Regions from separate parts of the Homo sapiens genome. Here region 2 is linked to region 1. The links are contacts of gene promoters, found by promoter capture Hi-C in blood cells and fetal thymus (Javierre and others, 2016). All regions are on one chromosome and are shown on one strand. The core of a region is centred on a gene start or on the middle of the fragment in contact, and the rest is flanking DNA. Distances in the headings are between cores, read along the strand shown. Region 1 holds the start of LRP1-AS (LRP1 antisense RNA). Region 2 overlaps BAZ2A (bromodomain adjacent to zinc finger domain 2A).

Evidence for each region. The method cuts DNA at HindIII sites, captures the fragments that hold promoters and counts their contacts. A CHiCAGO score of 5 or more calls a contact.
Region 2: a fragment that was not itself captured here is called in contact with the fragment with the promoter of LRP1-AS in region 1 in 1 of 17 cell types (monocytes); the score reaches 5.0 in monocytes.

Annotation. Positions count from the first base shown.
Region 1 is chr12:57,144,610-57,151,265 of GRCh38, forward strand. It overlaps LRP1-AS (LRP1 antisense RNA), which reads right to left and starts at 3,010. Exons shown (of 2, transcript NR_131938.2): 1 at 2,830-3,010; 2 at 11-474. It overlaps LRP1 (LDL receptor related protein 1), which reads left to right. Exons shown (of 89, transcript NM_002332.3): 5 at 363-491; 6 at 618-881. RefSeq lists enhancers at 1,624-2,552, 4,410-5,337. The HindIII fragment of the contact is 5,560 bases long and covers 1-3,544 here.
Region 2 is chr12:56,611,199-56,617,854 of GRCh38, forward strand. It overlaps BAZ2A (bromodomain adjacent to zinc finger domain 2A), which reads right to left. Exons shown (of 29, transcript NM_001300905.2): 2 at 6,197-6,334; 3 at 3,816-4,409; 4 at 2,755-2,940; 5 at 1,817-2,035; 6 at 575-1,048; 7 at 375-435. The coding sequence starts at 6,332. Among named protein-coding and RNA genes, the nearest start is that of BAZ2A, 16 kb to the right of the region's middle. The HindIII fragment of the contact is 2,147 bases long and covers 3,280-5,426 here.

The DNA of each region.
Region 1 (6,656 bases), core at 1,760-4,259:
GTTTCATATGTTATTATAGTAACTATATTTCATTTATTATCTGAATATAAGTTTCATGAGGACAGCAATGTGGGTCTATTTTAAAGTTCACTGATGCACCCCTGGCACCTGACCCATAGTAGGGACTCAATAAATCTTCCCTGCGTGGATGAGTGATATGTACACGAGTGTTTCTCTAGAGTGGATTCCAAGACTGGACTTGCTGGGTGTTAAGGTTTGCACATTTCATGCTGTAATAGATTCTGCCGAACTGTCCTTCAAGGTAGCTGTAAGGATGGACATGTTGATCATGTCTGATGATCACCCACTTCGTTGCCCTTGTCACACTGGAAATGACCACATTCTTGCCCTTTCCTCGGCAGATTTTGATGAGTGCTCAGTGTACGGCACCTGCAGCCAGCTATGCACCAACACAGACGGCTCCTTCATATGTGGCTGTGTTGAAGGATACCTCCTGCAGCCGGATAACCGCTCCTGCAAGGCCAAGAACGGTGGGTGGGGTTGCCTCTGGCCACAGTGCTAACTAAGCCCCCTCAATGCTGTTCCCTGGTGGGTGGTGGCCTGAGAGGTGGTCCTAGAGCCCTGGCTGCACGGACTCTTCTCTTCCCCATTCCCAGAGCCAGTAGACCGGCCCCCTGTGCTGTTGATAGCCAACTCCCAGAACATCTTGGCCACGTACCTGAGTGGGGCCCAGGTGTCTACCATCACACCTACGAGCACGCGGCAGACCACAGCCATGGACTTCAGCTATGCCAACGAGACCGTATGCTGGGTGCATGTTGGGGACAGTGCTGCTCAGACGCAGCTCAAGTGTGCCCGCATGCCTGGCCTAAAGGGCTTCGTGGATGAGCACACCATCAACATCTCCCTCAGTCTGCACCGTGAGTCACCTGCTCTCAGCTTGGAGGGCTGGGGAGGGTAGGGGAGACAGGGAAGGTGGACCCTATCTTGAACAGAGGCCGGGAGTTACACAGGATGGTCCTGTCTGGGGCAGGAGAAGCAGGAGGCTGGATACAATGGTGTGTGTTTGAGGCAGGGGCAGAGCCACCGGCACGCTCCCTCCCAGCTCTCTGAGCAAGTGTCTGGATGGCCCCTGCATTTCTGGCCAAGGGCTGAGGGGGCAGTGAATGGTCAATCTCCAGAGACCAGGGACTGTCCCTTCTCTGAGAGGGGAGTGTTGACTAGACTGCAGAGGGACTTTCCGGTGCAGTGGGAGCCAAGGCTAGGGAAAGAAGGAGCGGAAGCCTGAGGTGCCCTGTTAGGCTGCAGCTGAGGGTAAAGGAGCTGGGGCCCAGCTGCTCTGTCTCCATGGGCCATCGTTTCCCTCGGGGACCATTGCCAATGGACTCTCTGCTGCCATCGGGGGAGGGCAGTACTGAGGTTATTTCTCTGTGGCTTTGTGGCAGTGAATGAGGCTGGGAGAGGAGCGTGAGCCACATGAGATTTTAGAATATCCTGGATGCTTCCATTCAGGCTTCTCCCTAGGCTACACTTTTGCTATCCTAGTTGTGGAAGAAGGGGTGTCACAGAAAGGGGCACGAGCATAGCTGGGTGTAGACCCACTGCCGGGAACAGCCCTGCCCATCTCAGAGGCTGTTACACCAGCAACCTTAAAAGTCAACATCTGGCAGCATCACATTTCCAAAGAAATGCACCACAGGGCTGAGAGGAAGAATCTGGCCTGTGGTTGATCTGACCCCCTAAGGGAGATTAACTTGATCTGTAACTGTTTAGTAAACCAGAATTCCCATCTCTGCCTTGGTTTCCTAATCTGCATAATGGGTTTGAGCTTGTCTGTCTAGATCAGATTAACTGGAGTGAAAGCCAGTGGTAAAGGACAGCACACTTTGAAGTTGAGGATTGTGAACCTTGGGCCTCTCTAGAAGATCTTCAAGTTTCTTTATTTGGTTCTTGTGATGAAAAGAAAGATCCCAGGAGGTTACAAGGGATTCATTCTGGGAGAGAGAAAGGCCCCTCCCCGGGATGGTGGCGAGCAGGGGTTCCTCTGAGAGCCCTCACTCTCCGTGGCCTCAGCGTAAGGTTCACATTTCTGCCTTTGGCTCCTCCAGAGCATCCCTGATAGCGTCCTTGGGCTGCTGCTGTCCACAGCTCACCTGTGATCAGACATGTGTCCTCCTTGGGGTGCTGAGCTGGGGGCTGTCAAGCCTGGTTGGCTGAGCTCTTAACGAGTGGGCGACTCAGGGAACCCCATGGCTGATGGGGTGGGATTGGTGCTAGACCCTCTTGTGCAGCTGCCCTCCCCCTGTTCCTTGTCCACTGACCTACTCAACAGGCCTGTCTGGGCAGACAGCTTGTCAGTTTCCTCCCCAGCCCTGCATCTTGCCATACAGTGGGCTTCTGGGTAGGTGGCTATGGGGTGTCCTGGAGGTAACCTTCTCAACTTCTACTCTGGCCTCATCTCCTTATCTGACTTCCTCCCCAGGAGAAGCTGGTACCCCTCCCTTGGCAAACAGATTTGCCTTGCCTCCCAGTCTGCTAAACTCACTGGGCCTCTCAGGGGCAGAGTCCAGGAGGCTAGAAGAGTCCAAGGGGAAATGCTTGTGGGGTAAATGAGTGGGTTTCTCTCATCCCAGCTTCTGTCCCTTCCTCCCTGCCCTCCCCCTGCTCCACGTCCCTGCCGCCTGAATGTCTGGCTGTCACCCTGAGGATGGTTGTTTTGCTCTCTCCCACAAACTAATTATGGGTCCCAAACTGAGGACGTCAGTGTCTCTCCCCTAGCCCCTCCCCCAGTTTCTGGGTCATCCCCCTCCCCAGGAGATGCTGACTGGCCTGCCCTGGTGTGTAGGGTGGCTGGTCCCAGGCACTCACCTGCACAGTGGCTGCTGGCCTGTAATTAGCTCCCCAAGGAGGACGAAGAAGAAAGGCTGCAGCTTTCCCCTGCTTTCACTCTGCCCTCCAGGGCAGCCCTCCCTGCAAGCCTTCCATTCTGTGCTGTGACTGTGACCTCTGTTGGACCCCTGGGGCTGAGCCTCATGCAGCAGGGGTGCACACAGAGGGAGGAGTCTGACAATTGAGGGGTGTTCGAGCCAGCGAGGCCAGCCCGCTGGTGCAGGCAGAAGGGGGAGCCTGCCCCAGAGAAAACTCTGGAAGCAGAAATAGAATAGAAAGAAGGAAGGAGGCCAGGAAATGAGCCTGGTTCACATGTGTCCTGGGCCATGTGAGTCAGACCTGTTGTGGAGTCCTGAGAGCCCCCGAGGGCCCCCCTGAGGCCCTGCAGTGTGTGAACATTCCTCTTCAATGCCCCAGGGCTGCTGACCCTCCTGCCTCAGGCCCAGTGTTATCCCCCTGGATTGGGTGGGTCATCTCTTTTCCTCCCACCTGAGATTACCTCCCCCTCCCCTCTGCCGCTGGCCCAGTGGTTTGGGGAGGTCTATGAGGCTCGAATTCCAAGACCAGAGAACTCCATGGTGAGAGCCGGAAGAGAAGGCAAGACCCTTGGCCAGTACCAAGAGCAGCCCTGGCTTTCACTACTGCTTTCTCAAAGGGGCTATGCATTGATTTGATTTTAGATGGTACCTGGACAAGCTTTTTTTTTTTTTTTTTAACTGTTATAGTTACGTTTTTATTTGATATGCATTAGGAAACTCCTGTAACTAGCACATCAAATCTGTTACTTCAGCAATTGTTTAGCATGCAGCGAAATAAGAAAAGTAAGTTAATTGAAATAACTGGTAATAAACAGTAGCGCAAGCTGTACATAAGCATGGTAGACATTTTGAAAGTGATACACAAAAGACTAAAGTTCTGAAAATTGAGGCCCAGAGGGATCAACAGGCCTGATAGTCCCTTAGTCAGGAACCAGGCCTGCGCACTCTCACCCCCACCTCTGACCAGTCTCTCAGCTCCAGAGGCCTATGGAGCCTGTAACCCAGCTTTGTCCAGCCTCCTGCCAGGCTGCCCCTGGGCAGGCCTGGTGGTGCAGTCTACCGACCCCAGCCCAGCCCTGCATTTCCTAAGCTGAGCTCCTCTGATCTGTATTCCCTTCACCTTGGAGGATGCCACCACTGTAGAAAGAATGAGGCAGACTGCAAGATTGGGGTCCTGGGAACATGGGTGTGTATGGTGAGGGGAGGTTCTGAGGTTGTAAATAGAGGCCTTGAAGGAAATCGGGTTTGCTGAAGTCACTCAGGAGTTTGGACTGTGTGTGAAAGGATGGTCTGAAGGGGCTCTCAGAGGTCTCAGGGTTCCCCTCCCTGCACCATGCTGCATGGGGAAGAAGGAGGTGGCTGGGGAGCTCAGCAAAGGGCCCCTAGGCTGCAGGCAGCAAGGTTGCGAAATGGGTCCCAGGTCCAGCTGGCCAACTTCACTTTTCCCTTCCTCTCCCTTTCTTTTATTTATTTATTTTTTTAGTGTGTGTGTTTTCGAAATCACAACAGGAAATGGGGTAGTGATTTGTCTAGAGGGGAGGCAAAGAAGGGGCAGACAGCAGTCCCTCTGAGTCTAATGAACTGGCTGCTGCTGCTGGAAGGGGTGCTACCTCCCCACTGTGCTGGGCACCCCTGGACCCTCTCAGCCTCCCACCCTGCCTACAAAGCACTTCCAGACTTCACATGTGAAAGCTAACCATGCCCATCCTTGGCCTTTCTGACCCATGGGATGCCAGGCTGTTTGGGGAGGGGTGGCTCTAGCCACCCCACTCTTTGGCCTTAGGCCCCCTGCATCCTGGCACTTTTGCTTCCCATTCCTGTTCTGAGTTTCCTAATCATTTAACAGCTCACTCTTGCTCCTCCTCTCTCCTGGCCCGGGCCAGCCCTGTGTCTCCCGGCCCAGATCCAGCCCTGTCCTCTCCTCCCCCGCTGTCTCCTTGAAATTGCCTCTCCACCCAGACTGCTCCCAGCACTCCCCTTGCTGTTTTCAAGCCAAAGGAAGTAACTTAAGCAAGAGAGATGTGTTTTAGAGCCCGGCAAGGATTTCTCAATAGAGGGAAGACCCTAAGATGGGCTGAGTGGAATCCAGGCATCATCCCTGGGATCTAGGTCGAAATGCCTCTTGGGGACCTAAGCCAGGCAGGGGAAGGTAGCAGGACATAACCACAGGCTGGAATCACAGGCAGGAGCAGGAAGAGAGCCCAGGAGAACGAGGTGACACAACACGGCTAAGCTCCAGACTGGCTGGTGGAAGGAAGAGCTGAAGTCGGGACCCAGCAGGAAACAAGGAGCATGAGGCCACATCGTTTAGCAGAGCTTCTGCCAGGCTCGCCAGGAGGTCTCCTTCCCACCTTCGAAGTCCTCAGACTCTCCGCCATCTCTCCCAGGCCCAGGCGAGATCCCTGAGTAGGATTACTAGACAGACTGTCCTCTCCCACTGTCTTGGAGTGTCCCAAGGCCAGAGAGGCAGGATCCTGGCAGTAGAAGAGAGGGGGAAAATGATGTCCCAGCTCTAGAACAACAGACTCAGTCTTCAATAAATATTTGTTCAATGGATCAATACATGTGTGTCAGACGCCTGAGACAAAGACAAAAGGCAGCGCTCTCCTTACAGTATTTGCAGTCAGGTGAAGAGGCCATGATCAAAGAAGCTCCAGAGGCCTATGGAGCCTGTAACAGGAAAACTTCCTTCTTTTTTTTTTTTTTTTTTTTGAGATGGAGTCTCACTCTGTCGCCCAGGCTGGAGTGCAGTGATGCAATCTTGGCTCACTGCAAGCTCTGCCTCCCGGGTTCACGCCATTCTTCTGCCTCAGGCTCCCGAGTAGCTAGGACTACAGGTGCCCGCCACCACGCCTGGCTAATTTTTTGTGTTTTTAGTAGAGACAGAGTTTTACCATGTTAGCCAGGATGGTCTCGATCTCCTGGCCTCATGATCCACCTGCTTCAGCCTCCCAGAGTGCTGGGATTACAGGCGTGAGCCACTGAGCCTGGCCTTGAAAACTTCCTTCTAATAGGGCAAGCTTCCTTCTGGGAGCCTGAGCCGAGTCTTGACGAGTAGTAGGTGTTAGCCCCAAATGGCCCACCTGGAGGGCCCACCTAGAGTCAGGAGGCCACAGGGCTCTGGCTGGAGGCACAGAGGGCGACTTGGTGGAAAAGGTGGGAAAGGATGGGTTCAGGGAGGGGAGGACATGGTGGGAACCGCAGCCCCCATGTGGGGAGTGTTTATCATGCACCAGGCCTCATGCTAAGTGCAGTTAGTGTACCATCCAGTTTTACAAATGAGGAAACAGAGACTCAGAGGCATTAAGTAACTTGCTCATAGCCTCAGTTGGAAGGTGACAGAACCAGAATTCAAACTCAGGCTGTCAGTGTCTAGGGCCCAGTTGGACCCAGGGCAGAGCAGAATGATATGAGGAGAGGTGGGGAGGTTCCTGGAACAAGGGCCAGAATCTAGTGTGCTCCCTGGGGATGTGGATAGAGGTCCAGGGACCTCTTTGGATGTGTATACACTCTTGGGTGTGTAGATGTGTTGGGTGACATTTTCTCAGGACATAAAGGCTTCTTCCTTCCTTCCGATTTCCTTATTTTAGAGCAGGTGACTAGAATCCTGCAGCTGAAGCTAGAGTCTTTTTGGGCATGGGGTGGGTCCCATGTGTTTGGGAAAGCAGCCACCATGTATGGAAATGCCTCTTGAACAATGGGAATGATGGAGAAGTTGAGAAAAGCTGGAGTTGTAGTGAGTGCAGATGCTGAGCAGTGGGATGGGGT
Region 2 (6,656 bases), core at 3,103-5,602, 530 kb before region 1:
AAAACCACCTCAATTCATTAGTACTAAGTCACTCCTCATTCATTACTATCCCTTGTCCACAGAAATAGGACAAGCCAGCTGGTTTGGATGTGAGCCCTAGGGTTTGGAAAAGATAATAGCTGGAGCTCCTTGGGCAAAATTGAGTCACTACAAGATGAAAAAAGAATAGGTGATGGAAGACAGACCTTGAGAGAAGAAGGAAAACCTAGGAATCTCATGCCAAGAAACATTATCACTGCAGATAACTGTCCTGTAATCTACTCTTGTCTGGCCCATTCCTCCCCCACCTCAGAGGAAAAGAGGCATTCCCTTCTTTCTAGAGTTGTGCATTAAACTTGTCAAGGTCAATAAATGTAGCAAACTAGAGCATTTACCCATGTTGGAGGGGAAGACGAACTTCTTCTGGGGTAGCAATACGTCTCCTCATGACATCACCTTGGGAGGAAGGGATACCCAAGTTAAGAGTTCAAGCAAAATATTTAAACAATAGGCCAATAGGGAAAGGCTAACTACAACATGGGACAGAAAAGTTTCTTGGAACCAGACAGGGATAGAATAGAATCTGGATACTCACCACTACCAGAAGCAGTGAGTCCTTCTCCAGTGATCTCTTCCACGTCAGCAGTGGTTTCTAGAAAGCTGCTGACATCCTTATTTGCTGGGGAGGCTGTTGGAAAGGCAGCTGCTGGGGAAGTTACGGGAGAGGCTTTTGGGGATGTCACTGAAGCCGTCAACGGGACTTCTAAGGAGACTGCTGGGAGGACTGCTGAGGAAGCTGGAGAGACCACTGAGAAGACTGCTGGAGAGACAACTGTAGAAGCTGCGGGACAAACTTCTGGAGAGATTTCTGGGGAGGCTGCTGGAGAAACCACTAGGGAGACTGCTGGGGAGGTTGTTGGCGAGACTGCTGGTGAGGTTGCTGGATGTAGCTGAATAGTGGATGACTGATCAGGAGCTGGCTGGGTCAGGGATGGTGGGAAGTCTGAAGATTGAGTTTCCATTTCTTCCTGTTCAGCGTCACTACCATTATTCAGGTCAAAGCTGTTATCTAGAATCCAAAGGGACAGGATAGGCTTTAAAAAAAAAAAAGGCATCACATAAAACAAGAGAATCTACTCAGTCAACCCTGGACCAAGCTAAACAGGGTTACTTCAAGGGGTCTTCCCTAGGGTTGGAAAAAGAAGTAGCTTTTTCTCCCAACCAATCATGAGGATTAAAGGGTAAAGTTGCTACAGATGTCATTGTGTGAAGAAATACCTTTTACCTGGTGCCAATAAAGCTTCTAGCCTCCTTCTCCCTACAAATTCCAAGTCTCACAAGTTCTTCAAAGCAGAGGGCACAGGTCGGAGTATAGCAGCCTATACCTCTTTTAGTTCCACCATACACTATCCCATAGCCCCTCAGCTCCCAGCAAGGTGCTCTTGCTTTCCTACTTTTTTTTTGAGATGGAGTCTTGCTCTGTTGCCCAGGTTGGAGTGCAACGACACAATCTCGGCTCACTGCAACCTCTGCCTCCTGGGGCCAAGCGATTCTCCTGCCTCAGCCTCCCAGGTAGCTGGGATTACAGGCATGTGCCAACACACCTGGCTAATTTTTGTATTTTTAGTAGAGGCGGGGTTTCACCATGTTGGCCAGGTGGTCTCAAACTCCTGATCTCAGGTGATCCACCCGCCTCGGCCTCCCGAAGTGCTGAGATTACAGGCGTGAGCCACTGCGCCCAGCCAGATTTCCCACTCTTAAGGCCCTAACTATGAAACTTATTCTCTCATCTTTTCTCAGGTAAAGGTCTTTCTTTGTCCTACCTACCGTCACTTACCTTGCAGGACAGACTCCCCTAGGACAGGTGGAGAGGTGGGACTGGCAAAGATAGAGGTTGATGTTTGACTATCATCTGCCAGGAGACTGAAGGCAGTAGCATTATTGAGGGAAGGGCAATCAAGGGCAGAAATCACAGGGCTGTCCTCAAGAGGCAGCTTGTCCTCTGCACCCATCAGCTCCGTGTCATCAATACCATATAGTCCTCCACTCACTGGCTCTGTTTACAAGGGTAGAAAAATCAGAGCAGGATAATGAGAAAAAAATCAGAAAGCAAGATTTAAGAAACACTGGTCAGAAAACATCCAATTCTAGTTCCCACAATGTGAAGATTCTTCCTAATATTAAGTTAGGTAACAAGTAAAGCCTTCTCCCTGAAAGAGTAGTCATGAGATTATAGGGATCATAAAAGTTTGAGGGGAGGCCGAGGCAGAAGAATTGCTTGAGGCCAGAGTTCAAGACCAGCCTGGACAACATAGCAAGACCTCATCTCTACAAGGTGAAAATGAAAGGAAAGGCATTGGTGGTATTATCTACCCAGAGACCTATGCAAAATTCTAGGATTTATCATAAAATATGTCTTTCTTGTACTTCAGTGGAGTAAAAGGTAACTGCTCACTGACAAATGTTTTCTTCCTAGTTTGTCAGAACCCAGAAAGATCAACTGTGTGATAATAAGTCCCTACCCAGTGAATTATTACAGCCCAGAGCTCTTGGCCAAAAGGAATACTGGGAAAGAACCTGGGACATGAACCAATTCAGCTCAGAATTCAGTTAGGGCACCAAGTCCTGTGGCATGTAACTGTGGTCTGCCTTAGGCCTACCTGGAAGCCCCAGTGCCCCTGATTGCCTAATACTTTTCCCATTTTACTGTCTCTTTCAGGTAAAGTTTGGCTACTCTGCATGGATAAGTTAAAGGGACATAGCCTCCAAACCTACCTGGTGCCAGAGAGTTGAAGGGCTCCAGAGAGTCTTCACTGAGGATTGGAGTGTCTTCCAGTTGATCAGGAAGATGTGAAGGATCATCTAAACAGCTCACTGTGGGGTCAGGGACCAGGACTGAGACCTCTTGGTGTAACGATTCCACAGAAGGGACAGAGCCATTGTAGCCACACATCTTCAGTTCTAGGAAATCACAGGAGAGACCAAAAGTCAAAATCAGTGCCTTATATTGGTTCACTTAGCTATACTAGGCAGTCAATCTTTGCTAGAAGGATGTTCATTCATTCAACATTTATTGCGGCCAGTTCATTGCTGGGAACCGATCACATCAAGATACTCTGAGCAGAGATGTGCTGGTAAAATCAATCCTACAGCAGGCAAAGAGAGGAAAAGAGAGTGGGGTCTGATACAACATCTCTATCATGTTCTCAGATATCTCCTCCATCCATTGGGAAACGAGAAAACATCCTGTAATTTTACAGAGTGGTGGTTACCCTTGTACCAGGAATCAACTGGAAGCTAAGCTTTTATCTATTTTGAGGGAAAAGATGAGAGGGGCTGTCACGTGTACTAATGCTAAACAACAAAAAAAAGGAAACTGAGTAGACAAATAATGATATGCTCTGCCTGCTTCCTTCCCTCCTTCGCATGCCAATCACTACATTGGGCTCAGACGACTTTAACAGCCAGTCTGATCCTGCCACAGTCAGTTAAAACAGCCTCAATGCCCGCTGCTAGACCCTAACCACTCCGTATATTTTGAAAGAAGCCTTTCTTGATGCAGGGTGTCTGTTGGGGCTGTTTCGGGCTCGCCCACCTGCCCTCTCCAGGCCAGAAGCTCTGCATGAGCTTGAAATAATTTGCACTCCCACTCGCGAGCTGGTGCTGCTGCCACAAAAACACCAGCCACTTGGCTCTGCTAATTGCTAATCACCAACATGCAAATCAGCCTCCACTGCAGAGAGCTGGAAAGACAAGTTTTTCTCACCTCAAAAAGCCACTATCCCCCCCGAGCTCCATTTTTCCTTTCCCCACCCAGTTCACCAACCCAGTTATACCTGGCTGCTCTTCTTCCAGCTCCAAGCTGCCTACCAAGCCAGTGCCATTCTCTGCCACAACTGAAGTCATCTCCTTTTCTGCTGCCTCATCAGGATGGATACCACTGCCTACCTCCTGGGAGGGTGCAAAGGTTTGAATGCTAGATCCCAACATAGGAGAAGTCTGTGGGGAGGTGAAAAAACTAGGGGGTCCATTGGGCATCACCTCAAAATTCTGGTCAGGAAAGGAATCATACAGTTCTTGTGAATCAAAGTTAAGCCCCATGGGACTCTGGGTACCGTTGGCCCAGAACTCTTGGCTCCCAGCCCGAAGGTTAGTGTTATGACTTGGGGATGAAGGTTGCCGGCTGCCCCCAAGGATGCCGTTGAGTGGGTATTGTCCCCCCGAGAACTGGGAGAGAAGGGGTGGGTCCTTGAGGTTGCTGCCAGGATTGGCAGATGGGTACTGTGAGTAGTTCCAGAGACAGTCGTAGGCCACGCTGGGGTGATGGAGGTGTGAGGTGCTGGAGGAGTGGGGAGCAGAGTTCAAAATCCCTGAAGTAGTAGTGTGAGATACAGTAGATAAGCCATTAACATTCACATCCCCATTCAAACCTGGCAGAGAAAGAAAGAAAAGGTCAGTTACAGATATGTAGGCAAGCAACTTTACCAAAACAAACTCAAAGTAATAGCACTGACTAGAAAAAGACATGGTAAAGGGAAGGGGGATTCCTCCCCTGCTATATTTAGTTTTTGGGTCTCTGGAGAACACCAAGCCCAGAGGCTCCTGGATGTAGGTTTAGCAACTGCTGCTGAGGCTGAGTAGGGGGCTAGAGAGCTCTCCAGGCCTACCATGAGAGCCACCAGCAGAGCTGGTTGCTGCTGCTTACTGCTGGCTTTTTTTTGGTTTATTTTTTGTTTGTTTGTTTTGAGACGGAATCTCGCTATGTCACCAGGCTGGAGTGCAGTGGTGCAATCTCGACCCACGGCAACCTCTGCCTCCCTGGTTCAAGTGATTCTCCTGCCTCAGCCTCCCGAGTAGCTGGGACCACAGGCGCCCATCACCACGCCCGGCTAATTTTTGTATTTTCAGTAGAGACGGGGTTTTACCGTGTTGGCCAGGATGGTCTCATCTCTTGACCTCGTGATCCACCTGCCTCGGCCTCCCAAAGTGCTGGGATTACAGGCGTGAGCCACCACGCCTGGCCTTTTTTTTTGTTTTTAATTAAATGAAACTGTTTGCAGACTCCCTACAGTGACTTGCATTCTGCCCTACTCTCATTCCCTAGGGGATTTCTTCCCTTGGAGGGGCATGACTGAATTCGCTAGGGGCCCCCTTTCCCCAGTGCCTATTTGGCCCCACAGTGGTACCAAAAGGAACAACCTCCACCTCACTGGCACATGCAGATCCAGCACTTTGTGCTGGGCTAAGAATAGAATTTGCAGTCACCACAGCGACAAGAACCCAGCTCAGAAGGCTGGGCTTGGCCCTTCCCTATAGGCATTGGAAGGTAATATGCCAGCTGGCGGGGTAGGGGGGGCACTTTGTGTGCTGTAGAATTCAGCTCTCATCATCAATGGCAACCTCTGGGATGGAGGACAATCAATCAAAAAGAACCAAGATATTAAGGAAGCTTGAGGGTAGGGTGGAATCCAATGAAATAAAGGAGCTTCTACCATCTGCAACCCTCTTCGAGAGGATCGGAGGGAGAAGTAGCAGGATTTTTCTGCTACAAGAAAGGAGGGAAGCATGTGGGCTTCTCTCTGCTTCCAAGTATAAAGGACTTGAAACCCAAGCAAGATTACAGAGGTACCTGGCGAGTCATGGTACAGAGCAACTGGTAAGCCAAATCCAGGAAAAGACCCAATCCTGGCAGCAACACCTCCATATGGAATTATGAACTTCTCTCTGGGGGAACTAGGTAAGCATTAAACTTTCCCTTGTCCCTACCTTCCATCCAAGGACAGAAGGTGGAATAAGTACTTCTAGCATCTGCCTTTCTCTGATGTACAAACTAAAAGGCAATAAATACACTGCAACCTTCATTCAACTCTCAGTCCTGGCCCAGTGTAGCTTCCCTAACCTCTAAAAACAGCTTCTTAGAAGGCTAGCACTTTATCTCTCTCATGGGTTATCAGCAGCAGTAGCCACTTCACTGCTCTGTCAGCAGCCAGGGGAACAGGGCTGACAGAAGAACAGGCTAAGATGAAAAAGCCAGTGGGTTTTTCTAATCTCTTCCAACCTTAAATCAATACAAAAAATGTTTCCAAAAAACCCTAGAACTTGTTCTTAGAAGTTGATTTCTCTCCAGCAGCAAAGTAGAGCAAAATATCCCCCCATGAATCTGCCCTAAAGGGATGATGCCCATTCCCTCCCCAGGCCAAGCAGCCCTCACACTCACTTTTCCCTTGCTGGGGGAAGTTCATGGGAGACCCGTTAGTGTAGAGGCCCTCCCCTGAGGAAGGAGAGGGTTTCAGTCCTGAGGCAGCAGGTGCAGGGGGAAGGCCAGTAAAGTTAAAATGGTCGTTTGCCTCCATTTCTGCAGGAGGGGAGAGAGAGGGAAAAAAAATACTGGCGGTTAAACAAGGTTATGTCACCTGGAATCTTCCAGGGGCAATGACCCCTCCCCTCCACCTACTTACCCTTCTCCTACCTAAGTACTGTGTGAGGGAAGGTACAGAATAAGAAAAGAGAAGGAGAAAATATGCCTCTAGCCTGAGCAATGAACCTATGAAAACAGTCTTTTAAAGCCAGCTTTGTAGATTAAAAAACAAAGCAAGTTAGCGAGAAAAACCAAGATACAAACCTGGAGGAGTCTTCCCTCTGTGTAAGCCCCACTCAGCCCAGGTTACCCTTCTATA